3 separate regions of the Homo sapiens genome follow, and regions 1 and 3 are each linked to region 2. The links are contacts of gene promoters, found by promoter capture Hi-C in human tissues and cell types (Jung and others, 2019). All regions are on one chromosome and are shown on one strand. Each heading gives the region's core, a stretch centred on a gene start or on the middle of the fragment in contact. The rest is flanking DNA. Distances are from core to core; before and after follow the strand shown.

Region 1 (4,070 bases), core at 1,015-3,514, 290 kb after region 2:
AGAGGGAACAGGGCATTAAAAAAATTGAAGAAATAATGACAAAACATCTGAAATCTGATGAAAAGCATGAATATACATACCCAAGAAGTTCACAAACTCTAAGAAGGATAAACTCAGAGATCCACACCAAGACAAATTATAGTCAAATTGTTGAAACCCAAAGATTTTAAAAGCAGCAAGAGAGAAGTAACTCATTATGTACAAGAGATTCTCAATAAGATTACCAGCTGATTTCAGAAACCATGGGAGGCCAAAAGACAATGGGGGATATATTTAAAGACTGAAGAAAAAAAAAAGTCAAACAAGAATTCTATATATCCAGCAAAACTATGCTGCAAGAATTAAGGAGAAATAAGACATTTCCAGATAAACAAAACTTAGGAAGTTCATTAATAGTAGACCTGCCCACAAGAAAAGCTAACGGGAGAAAGAAAAAACAAACAAACAAACAAACAAATGCTAAAGGAAGACCTTCAGAATGAAACAAAAGGACAAAAAATAATAACTCACAGCCACACAAAGAAACAAAGATCTCTGATAAACATAACAACATAGCAGGCTGGGCGCAGTGGCTCATGTCTGTAATCCCAGCACTTTGGGAGGCCAAGGTGAGCGGATCATTTGAGGTCAGGAGTTTGAGACCAACCAGGCCAACATGGTGAAACCCCATCTCTACAAAAAATAGAAAAATTAGCTGGATGTGGTGACAGGTGCCCATAATCCCAGTTACTCGGGAGGCTGAGGCAGGAGAATGGCTTGAACCCGGAGGGTGGAGGTTGCAGTGAGCCAAGATCACGCCACTGCACTCCAGCCTGGGCGAAAGAGTGAGACTCTGTCTCAAAAAAAAAAAAAAAAAAGTAACAACATTGCCAGGTATGCTGGTTCACACTTGTAATCCCATTACTTTGGGAGGCCAAGGCGGGTGAATTGCTTGAGGTCAGGCGTTCGAGACTAGCCTGGGCAACATAGTGAGACCTCGTGTCTACAAAAAATACAAAAATTAGCCAGGCATGGTGGCCCCACTACTCAGGAGACTGAGGTGGAAGGATCACTTGAGCCCAGGAGGTCGAGGCTGCTGTGAGCTGAGATTGTGCCACCGCACTCCAGCCTGGGTGACAAAGCGAGACCCTGTGTCAAAAAAAAAAAAAAAGATAAAAGCTAGTATTGTATTTTTAGTTTGTAGCCCCACTTTTTTCTATATAATTTAAAAGGAAAATGCATTAAACAATAATTATAAATCTATGTCAATGGGAACACAATGTATAAAGATGTAATCTGTGACAATAACAATATAAAGAAGGGACTAAAATGTATACGAGCAAAATGTTTATATACCATTGAAACTAAGTTGGTATTATTCAAACTAGGTTGTTATCAGTTTAGAATGTTAATTATAATCACCAAGGTATCCATTAGGAAAATAACTACAAAATATATAGAAAAGGAAAGCAAAGGGGAATCAAAATGGTTATGCTACAGACCAGGTGCAGTCGCTCATACCTATAATTCCAGCACTTTGGGTGGCCAAGGCAGGAGGATCGCTTGAGCCCAGGAGTTCAAGACCAGACTGGGCAACATAGCAAGACCTCATCTCTAGAAAAAATAAAAATGAAAAATGAAAACAGTAGCCGGACGTAGTGGCATGTGCCTGTGGTCCCAGCTCCTCAAGAGGCTGAGGCAGGCAGATCATTTGAGCCCAGGAGCTCAAGACTAGCCTGGGCTAGACATCGTGAAACCTCGTCTCTACAAAAAAAAAATAGAAAAATCAGCCAGGCGCAGTGGTGCTTGCCTGTAGTCCCAGCTCCTGGGGAGGTTGAGGTAGGAGGATCACTCGAGCCCAGGAGGCGGAGATTTCAGTGAGCCAAGATCAACCACTGCACTCCAGCCTGGGTGACAGAGTTAGACCCTGTCTCAAAAAAAAAAAAAAAAAAAAGAACTCTTACAATTTAATAATCAGATTTGCTGGAAGGAGGGGAAGGGTATGGATCCTGGAGCGTAGTGAGGAGACAGTCATGGTGTTCCAGGGGAGAGGCAGTGAGGCCTGCATGAAAGCAGTAGCTGGGAATAGAAGGAAGGCTCAGGCCCAGACATATTCAACTAATGAGGACATAAAATTTGGCAGCTGAGGACTGTCCACTTAGTTTGAGATAAGTGGGGCTGGGTGCCAGCAAATCCAGCTTTCAGGAAGGAAAAGGAGTGGGGATAAGTTAAGGGAAGTGAAAGTGTCTAGCTACATAAATAGCAGGCCAATCCCAGCCCACGCACAGACCCCCAACTTGCAGCTGCCCACCTCACCCTCAGCTCTGGCCTCTTACTCACCCTCTACCACAGACATGGCTCAGTCACTGGCTCTGAGCCTCCTTATCCTGGTTCTGGCCTTTGGCATCCCCAGGACCCAAGGTACCAAGGCAGGGAGGGGCCTTGCATGGGGCTAAGGGGATCAAGAGGCCTGGATAGGAGCTTGCCAGCAGCCCCTGGCTCCCTGTGAATCCCACCCTGCAGGCAGTGATGGAGGGGCTCAGGACTGTTGCCTCAAGTACAGCCAAAGGAAGATTCCCGCCAAGGTTGTCCGCAGCTACCGGAAGCAGGAACCAAGCTTAGGCTGCTCCATCCCAGCTATCCTGTGAGTGGACACAAAGGGGTGGGTACTGGCTGGTGACGGGGTGGGGAGGGCATGGTGGGCAAGACTAAGAAGGCTTACTAGCCCCCACCCGCAGGTTCTTGCCCCGCAAGCGCTCTCAGGCAGAGCTATGTGCAGACCCAAAGGAGCTCTGGGTGCAGCAGCTGATGCAGCATCTGGACAAGACACCATCCCCACAGAAACCAGCCCAGGGCTGCAGGAAGGACAGGGGGGCCTCCAAGACTGGCAAGAAAGGAAAGGGCTCCAAAGGCTGCAAGAGGTGAGGAATCTGAGGGATGTGGGTAAAGGGGAGCCTCAGTCAGCCCCTCACACCCCTCTTCTGCCCTCACAGGACTGAGCGGTCACAGACCCCTAAAGGGCCATAGCCCAGTGAGCAGCCTGGAGCCCTGGAGACCCCACCAGCCTCACCAGCGCTTGAAGCCTGAACCCAAGATGCAAGAAGGAGGCTATGCTCAGGGGCCCTGGAGCAGCCACCCCATGCTGGCCTTGCCACACTCTTTCTCCTGCTTTAACCACCCCATCTGCATTCCCAGCTCTACCCTGCATGGCTGAGCTGCCCACAGCAGGCCAGGTCCAGAGAGACCGAGGAGGGAGAGTCTCCCAGGGAGCATGAGAGGAGGCAGCAGGACTGTCCCCTTGAAGGAGAATCATCAGGACCCTGGACCTGATACGGCTCCCCAGTACACCCCACCTCTTCCTTGTAAATATGATTTATACCTAACTGAATAAAAAGCTGTTCTGTCTTCCCACCCAAGTACCTGTTCCCATGTGTTTATGTCCACCGAGATGCCAAGGTTCCTACAGGGTGGGGTCACACACTCTGAGCCGAAAGCTCAGGCTGAAAAATGCTATGTTCTCATCTACCCCAAGAGTTTCCTTGCCTCTCAGGTGCCTGCACCCCTGAGCAGTTAAAGGGAGGCTGAAGGACAGGGTAGGACCCAGTCTTCTGAGGCATCCTGCCAATGGAGAGGTGGTGGACATGGAGCACACACCCCCAACAGCTCTGCAGACCTCTGAGACCCTGATTCTGTCCTGCACTAACTCCAGGGGTGACCTTCGGATCTTTTCCATGACCTTCAGACCTTTCCCCAGATATCCCAGAGGCTTCCTCTCTTTTCCCTGGGAACTATTCAATGAGACCCTCCAAGTGGTTCTTTGGAAGGGTCCCTAGGAGGGAAGCTGTGGCTTGGGCCCATCTATAACACAGACAAACACAAGTTATATTGAAACCTGCCCTAGCACAGTTCCAGCCCTGAGAGAGCCCCTGGGAGGCAAAGACCCGAGGGGACTTGCTTCAGCCCTATTCAGTGAAGCTCGGGCCTTGACCTCTCCTCTTTGTTTAATGGGGCTGTTGTGCTCTCCTTCTATTCCTATCTGGGCCCCTGGACTCACTCAGCCTCCTTCCAGATGGAAAAACCTCCTCCCTTTT
Region 2 (4,523 bases), core at 1,717-4,216:
GGGGCAGTCTCTAAAGCTGTCTTCAAGGAATGGAAAGAGGAGTGGGGAAAGGATTTAGAATCTATGGGTCAGCTAGGTTTCTTTTTGTGAGTTTATATAATGGTTTTGTTAGGATGGCAAAACCAGGTATCTAAAGTCAAAAGTATCTAACTATGCCTAGGAAGGAAAGGAGTTGTTGTTTTGTAGAAGGTGTTGGGGTTTGAGAGATCAGCTGGACATGATCAGCAGGGAGAGCACATGTGTTTTTATGAGAATTACGCCGAGATAGGTAACAGATGAGGAAGAAATTTGCGCTTGACTGAAGTAATGGGGGCTGTCTGTGAAGCTTTGTGGCAGTACAGCCCAGGTAATTTGCTGAGCCTGATGGGTGTCAGGGTCAGTCCAAGTGAAAGCGAAGAGAGGCTGGGATGAAGGGTGCAAAGGAATAGTAAAGAAAGCATGTTTGAGATCTAGAACAGAATAATGGGTTGTGGAGGGAGGTATTGAGGATAGGAGAGTATATGGGTTTGGCACCACAGGGTAGATAGGCAAAACAATTTGGTTGGTAAGGTGCAGATCCTGAATTAACCTGTAAGGCTTGTCTGGTTTTTGGACAGGTAAAATGGGGGAATTGTAAGGAGAGTTTATAGGCTTTAAAAGGCCTTGCTGTAACAGGTGAGTGATAACAGGCTTTAATCCTTTTAAAGTGTGCTGTGGGATGGGATATTGGCATTGAGCGGGGTAAGAGTGATTAGGTTTTAATGAGATGGTAAGGGGTGGATGATTGGTTGCTAAGGAGGGAGTAGAGGTGTCTTATACTTGTGGGTTAAGGTGGGGAGATACAAGGGGAGGATGTGAAGGAGGCTTTGAACTGGGGGAAAAGGTGGCAATGAGGTGTGGCTGTAGCCTAGGAACAGTCAGGGAAGCAGATAATTTAGTTAAAGTGTCTCAGCCTAATAGGGGAACTGGGCAGGTGGGGATAACTAAAAAGGAGTGCTTAAAAGAGTATTGTCTAAGTTGGCACCAGAGTTGGGGAGTTTTAAGAGGTTTAGAAGCCTGGCCGCCAATACCTACAACAGTTATGGAGGCAAGGGAAACAGGCCCTTGAAAAGAAGGTAATGTGGAGTGGGTAGCCTCCATATTGATTAAGAAGGGGACGGCTTACCTTCCACTGTAAGAGTTACCTAGAGCATCTGTGATGGTCCTGTAAGCTTCTGAGGTAATCGGGCAGTTTCAGTCTTCAGCTGCTAAGCCGAGAAGATCTGGGAAGGAGTCAGTCAGAGAGCCTTGGGCCAGAGTTCTAGGGGCTGTGGGACTGGTTGCCAGGTGAGTTGAACAGTCTGATTTTCAGTGGGGTCCTGCACAGATGGGACGCGGCTTAGGAGGAATCGTGGGCTGCGGGCATTCCTTGGCCTGGTGGCCAGATTTCTGGCACTTGTAGCAAGCTCCTGGGGGAGGCGGGCCTGGGGGAACGCCTGGCCACTGCGACTTAGGCGTTTGGAAGTTCTTTTGTGCTGGAGATGTGGCTGGGGTTTGTCTCACAGTGGAGGCAAGGAATTGCAACTCAGAAATATATTGCTACTTGGCTGCCTCTACTCTATTATTGTACACCTTGAAGGCCAGGTTAATTAGGTCCTGTTGTGGGGTTTGAGGGCTGGAATTTAATTTTTGGAGTTTTATTTAATGTCGGGAGCAGATTGGGTAATAAAATAAAATGCATATTGAGAATAAGATGGCCTTCTGACCTTTCAGGGTCTAGGGCTGTAAAGCGTCTCAGGGTTGCTGCCAAACGAGCCATGAACTGGGCTGGGTTTCTCATATTTGATGAAAAAGAGCCTAAACGCTAACTGATTTTGGGAGAGGTCGGATAAAGAAAAAGGAGCGTTAACCTTGACTATGCCTTTATATCCAGCCATCTTTTTAAGAGGAAATTGCTGGGCAGGTGGGGGAAGGCTGGTTGAGGAATGAAACTGTAAGCCGGACAAGGTGTGAGGAGGGGAGGTGATAAAAGGATTATAGGGTGGGGGAGCAGAGGCTGAGGAAGAATTGGGACCTGGCTCTGCCTGGTGAGGAGGGGAGAGGTCAGATGGGTCTGTAGAAAAGGAAGATTAGAAAGACTCAGTGATGCTTGGGGTTGGGACTGAGGGGACAGGTGGGAGGGAAAGAAGGAAGATTTGGGACTGGTTGCATTGGGAACAGAGACCAGGGAGGAACCGATGTGTAAAAGAATGCCTGGACGTCAGGCACCTCAGACCATTTGCCTAATTTATGACAAGAATTATTTAGATCTTGTAGGATGGAAAAATTAAAAGTGCCATTTTCTGGCTATTTGGAACTACTGTTGAGTTTGTATTGGGGTCAAGCAGCATTGCAGAAGAAAATAAGATGCTTAGATTTTAGGTCAGGTGAGAGTTGAAGAGGTTTTAAGTTCTTAAGAACACAGGCTAAGGGAGAAGGAGGAGGAATGGAGGGTGGAAGGTTGCCCATAGTGAAGGAAGCAAGCCCAGAGAAAAGAGAGTAGAGACACGGAGGGAAGGGGTTCGGGGGTTCTTACCCTCCAGAAAAGCAGGAAAGGGGTCGGGGCACAGAAATAAGGGGTTGGGGTGCAGAGATAAGAGGTCAGGGTGCGGAAATAAGGGATTGCGGTGTGGAAATAAGGGATCGGGGCACAGAGATAAGAGGTTGGGGTGCGGAAATAAGGGATCGGGGCGCAGAGATAAGAGGTCGGGGCATGGAAATAAGGGATCGGGGCTCAGAGATAAGGGGTCAGGGCGTGGAAATAAGGGATGGGGCACAGAGATAAGAGGTTGGGGCACAGAAATAAGGGATCGGGGGTTCTTGCCCCCAGAAAAGCAGAGAAGGGGTAGAGACACGGAGAGAAGGGGTTGGGGGGTTCTTGCCCCCTAGAAAAGTGGTACTTGCAGCTAAGGGTGAAGGAGAAGGGGTTGGGGGGGTTCTTGCCCTCTAGAAAAGCAGAGGAGTAGAGACATGGAGAGAAGGGGTTGGGGGGTTCTTGCCCCCTAGAAAAGCAGTACTTGCTGCTAAGGGTGAAGGACCAAGGCAGGTGTCCCCATGTGGTCAGACACCTCTGAAACATGGGTGAAAAATCAGAGAGGTGTCCCTGCAATGATTAAACACCAAGGGAAGGCTGCCTTCCTTAGTCCGTGACTGGCGCCAGAGTTTTGGGTCCAAGGATAAAATGTGTCTCCTTTGTCTCTACCAGAAAATGAAAGGAATTGAAAGTAAGAGAGGGAGAGATTGAAGGGTGGCGCCAAGATTGAAAGGAGAAAGTGGTTGAGGGATAGTGAGAGAGGTTGGAGAAGAGAGTAAGAAGAGGCCGCTTACCCGATTTAAAATTGGCGAGATGTTCCTTGGGCTGGTGGGTCTGAGGACCCGAGGTCGTAGGTGGATCTTTTTCACAGAGCAAAGAGCAGGAGGACAGGGGATTGATCTCCCAAGGGAGGTCCTCCAATCTGAGTCACAGCACCAAATTTCATGCGCGTCTGTGTGAAGAGACCACCAAACAGGCTTTGTGTGAGCAACAAGGCTGTTTATTTCACCTAGGTGCAGGCGGGCTGAGTCCGAAAAGAGAGTCAGCCAAGGGAGATAGGGGTGGGGCCGTTTTATAAGATTTGGGTAGGTAAAGGAAAATTACAGTCAAAGGGGGGTTGTTCTCTGGCGGGCAGGGGGGGCGGTCACAAGGTGCTCAGTAGGGGAGCTTTTGAGCCAGGATGAGCCAGGAGAAGGAATTTCACAAGATAATGTCATCAGTTAAGGCAGGAACAGGCCACTTTCATTTCTTTTGTGGTGGAATGTCATCAGTTAAGGCAGGAACCGGCCATCTGGATGTGTACATGCAGGTCACAGGGGATATGATGGCTTAGCTTGGGCTCAGAGGCCTGGCAAGTATAATGTGGCATTTCTGGAAATCAGACTCCCCACCCCGACCCCAAGCTTTGTTGTTGCTATTTGTCATTGTTGTTTGCTTGTGTCGTGACTTTACTAATTGTGTAAATTGTGTATTTTTTTTTGTTGTGTGTGGCCACTGAAGTGTCTGCTTGGCTAGCTTAGCCAAAGACTAGACAGAGGTTTCATTAAGTGATTGCACCCAATGAGTCTACCAGTCTTTGCTGGAGGGGTATATACATAAATTTTTCTGGAACTATTTTAGAGTCACTTGCTGGCATACAGGACAACATAGGCTCCCAACCACTGTGGAGCACCAAAGACAAACCAGAGCAGCTGCACATCCTCAGCAGCTCCCAAATTCCAAAATCTTGGGGGATGGAACCATCTCTCCTGGAGTCTCACCTCTGCACAGTGAGGCCCTGGTGGCTACTGTCCTGACTTCTGGTGATTATTTTGCACTGGAGTCTCTCTTTGTTTTAGTCAGTAGAATCTCTAATGCCCACTTTCACTTTCTGGTTTAAATACAGGCTAAAGGTTCCCCACTGCTCCCCCAGCCCCAAACTCTGTTTCATCCCAGCACCTACCTTGGGCCCACCTTCAATCCTCATTCCTGCTCCTATTACTTTCTTTTTCAC
Region 3 (4,529 bases), core at 10-2,509, 310 kb after region 2:
GTGCCATGACCAAGTGGCAGACAGGCGGTGTGGAGTGGAGGTAAAGACTGCAAACCCTAGAGCACACCTGGGTCCAAATCATGCTCCAGTACTTACTAGCTGTGTGGCTTTGTGCTCTGAGCCTCATGTTCCTTATGTGTAAAATAAGAATAATAATGTGAAAATAAGAAAAACTACATCAATGGTATTGTTTTGGGAAAGTTAAGCAAGGTAATAGTGGTAAAGTCCTTGACATAGAGCCTAGCACATAGTAAACAATCAAAAATACCATTACTATTATTATGATTAATGAATGGAAAGAAGCTAAGTCAGAAATTTAAGAGGGAAATGTTCCCCCTCCCTCTCTCCATCCAAAAGAGGGTCTAGGGTTTGGGTGACGACGGGTGACTGGGCGTTTCACATTTAGTTTCTCTTTCAAGGCCTTCTCTTCTGACCTTTCTCATAAGGATGGGAAGTCACTTGTCCCCTCCCCCATCGGCCGATTCCTTGAAATTTTAAGATTTGTCTGAATATGAGCTGGCCAGCCCCTCTCCTTAGAAATCCCCTCTTGGTTCCCAGGACTGAGAAAAGGGGGAAAATGAAGGGGGCTATTCCAAGCCAGTCTCCCTCCAGCTGTTCCTTTGACCCAGGTGTTGGACATAGGAAAACAGTAAATAGAGGAAGGGGAGGGTTTGCTGAGCCCCAGAGGCCTGAGATGTGGGATGGGGGTCCTGGGCCTCCTCCCAAGGTACCTGGCCTTTCAGCTCTGCTTGCCCCAAGGGAAGGACTGGTTCCCACATAGTGGGCAGGCACAGTGATGACCTTGGAGGCCACCCCAGGATCTCATGGTTGTCCTGAGGGTGCCAGGGAGCCTTCTTCACCACCAGCCCAAGAAAGAAGCACCAGTGAGGACAAGGGATAAACCTAAGGAAGGGAGCACAGTTCCTCACTGTGGGCCCCACCTTTGACCATCACTTCTGAACCCCAGCTTCATGGTTGATGATGCAAATGCCATCAATGGGATGACAGGGCAATCCCTCTCTCTGGAGAAACAGTGCACAGCCCCCTTTACTGGGCCAGACTGCAGACTTAAGTTCTCAGAGCAGGAGCCAAGGAAAGCAGAAGGAAAGGGCAACCGCAGGGGGAAGAAGGGGGGCAGGGTGCGATTCTGCCAGAAAGAGGGGGGCAACAGGGGAATCACAGAATGGGACATGAAGGGGAATTTCAGGCAGAGAAAGTGAAGCTCTGGCCATAAATAGGAGTCAGCTGCAGGGCTCACATTCCCAGCCTCACATCACTCACACCTTGCATTTCACCCCTGCATCCCAGTCGCCCTGCAGCCTCACACAGATCCTGCACACACCCAGACAGCTGGCGCTCACACATTCACCGTTGGCCTGCCTCTGTTCACCCTCCATGGCCCTGCTACTGGCCCTCAGCCTGCTGGTTCTCTGGACTTCCCCAGGTAAGGCTGAAGGGAGAGTCAGGGTCAGAGGCAGTGGGGGGCTGGCAGTGGGTAATGTCTAGATCTCAGATTGCTTGGCACTGGACGTAAGGGACATGGTGAGTTCAGGCAAATGCTTAGGTCTGTATATTTCGGTGAGCCTGGCAGGTCCCTGCATGTGTGCCTGTAAGTGTGGGTGTCCCTGTGCCCCTGAATCCCAATGCGGGTGTGTCTTTTAGCACATCCTGGGGCCTATGGCTGTGACTGTCTCTGCAAGCTCTATTTCCTGCTGCCTCCGTTTCCCAGGCAGAAGGAGATTTGCTTAAGGTAGGGAGAATGGCAGACACTAAGCCAAGGCTGATATTCAAAAATTTTAGCAATTAATAAGGCTCCTAACACCAGCCTACCCTACCCCACGCCCCTCCCACACTGTGACCTGCATTAACTCTTTACTTGCTGGATTGTCCTGGGAGAGAGGTTGGGGTGATCAGGGCAGCAGGAAGTCATTTGTGGGGCTCAGGGCAGTGGTTATTTACAAAACAGTTTAGAAGTATGACAATATATTTAGCAACCAGTAGAGCCAGAGCCATATTGGTGCATAATGGCTGAATACCAGGTCTAACTCCTCCCCGACCCCACCAGACACACACACACACACACACACACACACACACACACACACACACAGGTGTCCTCAATCCGAGCTAGGGCCATGGCCATGCCACCCTCAAGGGTCCCTGTGTCCTGTCACCTTCTTTCCCCATCCCAGCCCCAACTCTGAGTGGCACCAATGATGCTGAAGACTGCTGCCTGTCTGTGACCCAGAAACCCATCCCTGGGTACATCGTGAGGAACTTCCACTACCTTCTCATCAAGGATGGCTGCAGGGTGCCTGCTGTAGTGTGAGTTGTGGGGAGGGTGTCTAGCCTCATCTCCCGTTTTAGCCCCTGTTGAGACTCCCACCTTCTTATTCCCCTTCTCCATGCCAAGCCCAACCCCTTCAAGGAAATCCCTGAAACAGGTTCCCAGACATGGTCCCCAGGCATGCTGGATTCTGGGGCTCCATTCTCTCCGGCCTCTCACCCCAGGTTCACCACACTGAGGGGCCGCCAGCTCTGTGCACCCCCAGACCAGCCCTGGGTAGAACGCATCATCCAGAGACTGCAGAGGACCTCAGCCAAGGCAAGCCTGGCCCTCCCTGGCCCTGTCTCCTCCCTCTGAGCTCCTGTCTAAGATTCCAGCCCATGATCCTTCCTCTCCTTCCTCCTCTAGATGAAGCGCCGCAGCAGTTAACCTATGACCGTGCAGAGGGAGCCCGGAGTCCGAGTCAAGCATTGTGAATTATTACCTAACCTGGGGAACCGAGGACCAGAAGGAAGGACCAGGCTTCCAGCTCCTCTGCACCAGACCTGACCAGCCAGGACAGGGCCTGGGGTGTGTGTGAGTGTGAGTGTGAGCGAGAGGGTGAGTGTGGTCAGAGTAAAGCTGCTCCACCCCCAGATTGCAATGCTACCAATAAAGCCGCCTGGTGTTTACAACTAATTGATCACAACCTGTTACAGATTTCTTTGTTCTTTCTCCACTCCTACTGCTTAACTAGCCTTAAAAAAAAAAAAAAAGGCACCTGGCACCCATAGATCTGTCTGCTGTCCGTTTGCTGTCTAGCCAGGTGGACAGGAATAGGAAGGGGGAGGTGGAATGGCAGGATCTATTTTCTCTTCTGTGGCCTAGGGGGTCTCCTTGCTCACCTCCACTTAACAACCTGATGCTCTCAGGATCAGCCTCATTGCTTTCCATAGTTCAGCGACACTAAGCTTGGGTCAGTTCCCTGAATGAGCCAGCGTCTCATGCCTCCCACTCTTTGCTCTCCAAGGCAGGTGTTCAAGCATCCAGGTGTCTAAGGAATCCAGTGTCACTGGGGGGAAGGGAGTTGTGGGGAACCAGCTCTCACGGCTGGGGGAGGTGGAGTGGGGCAAAGGGCCCAGCTCTACTGCCTGGGGGAAAATACCCATCCACCCATGCCCTTCCCTTGGTCTGGCACACTCTTCTCTCTCCTCTGCCCACCTGGCTTCCCATCTGGGTCCAGACGCCTCTTCCTCCAGGAAGCCTTCCCTGACCCCAGGCTGGGTTAGGTAGCCTCCTGCAGTGGCCCCTCACAGCATTCATCACCCTGACTTATAGTTGCTGGTTTGTCCAAATTTGTCCATGTTCTTGGACTGGGATCACATCTATTTTGGGTTCCACTGTTTTTGTGGTGTCCAGCATGCTGCTTGGCACAAGGCAGTCCCTCAATAAATATTTGTTTAGAGAATGAATAAATATGTGAGGAAAGGCTCAGCAGCCAGGGCTGAGGGTCCATCTGTTCATTCTGTCCATACAGAATCTGACCTCCAGGCCAGCCTTCCTCTCTCAGCCAAACTGAGCAAGGTCCAGCCCCATCTTTGCAATCCTGGGGCCATGCCTCTCAGGGACACCGACAGACAGACCTGGGAGTCAGAGGTCAGAGACAGGAGAGAGGCCCACGGGGTGGAAGAAGGAGTAGCCAGGGAAGCACAGGAGATTCCACATAGAGGAGCCCTACCACCACCCCTACAGTCTACATGGGCTCCAGGGCTCAAAGGCAACACTGAGACCAGAGACATCTCCCCAGATGAGACCAGAAAGGAATCTCAGCTCTGGGAGATGAGAGCCGTGTGACTCTTGGAGCATCCCACAGGGCTTCTCTGTACAGAGTGAGTGCCTCGTACTTGAGAAGTCTCCTGGGGAAGCAGGCTAGCCTCCAGACAGTGTTCTCTAAGGGCCTCTCCAGCTGGGAGTGACAAGGCTGTGCCACTGGGGTCAGATGACAGCAAGGAGGCCAGATTGAGCACCCTTGCTTGGGAAGAGAGGTGTCATTATATCGGGTATACGTCAGCCAGCAACAAAACCAGGCCTGGGCAGGCCTTGAAAAGGGAGAAATGGTGAGGGAGTTGTGAAAGCCCCTCCTCACTGAGAGCATGACATCCTCTTCCTCTCCTCTGCTCCCAGATGCAGGTGCTCAAAACCTTGGGTATCCCAGGTCTCAGAATCACCTGGAATACCAGGTGGGTGGGAGGGATAGGGATAG

What was found. Contacts are between HindIII fragments. The study calls those that stand out against the background at their distance.
Region 1: a contact is called between the fragment with the promoter of CCL21 here and a fragment that was not itself captured in region 2, in 2 of the 25 tissues and cell types used here (dorsolateral prefrontal cortex and mesenchymal stem cells).
Region 3: a contact is called between the fragment with the promoter of CCL19 here and a fragment that was not itself captured in region 2, in 1 of the 25 tissues and cell types used here (dorsolateral prefrontal cortex).

The regions. Positions count from the first base shown.
Region 1 is chr9:34,708,330-34,712,399 of GRCh38, reverse strand. It overlaps CCL21 (C-C motif chemokine ligand 21), which reads left to right and starts at 2,264. Exons shown (of 4, transcript NM_002989.4): 1 at 2,264-2,400; 2 at 2,503-2,623; 3 at 2,718-2,900; 4 at 2,973-3,395. The coding sequence starts at 2,334. The coding sequence ends at 3,006. It also overlaps a transcript of PHF24 not described here. The HindIII fragment of the contact is 9,492 bases long and covers 1-4,070 here.
Region 2 is chr9:35,002,654-35,007,176 of GRCh38, reverse strand. It overlaps the pseudogene LOC100420114. Among named protein-coding and RNA genes, the nearest start is that of DNAJB5, 15 kb to the right of the region's middle. RefSeq lists an enhancer at 3,353-3,853. The HindIII fragment of the contact is 4,415 bases long and covers 759-4,523 here.
Region 3 is chr9:34,688,006-34,692,534 of GRCh38, reverse strand. It overlaps CCL19 (C-C motif chemokine ligand 19), which reads left to right and starts at 1,259. Exons shown (of 4, transcript NM_006274.3): 1 at 1,259-1,444; 2 at 2,193-2,325; 3 at 2,512-2,605; 4 at 2,696-2,965. The coding sequence starts at 1,396. The coding sequence ends at 2,716. It also overlaps a transcript of PHF24 not described here. The HindIII fragment of the contact is 19,341 bases long and covers 1-4,529 here.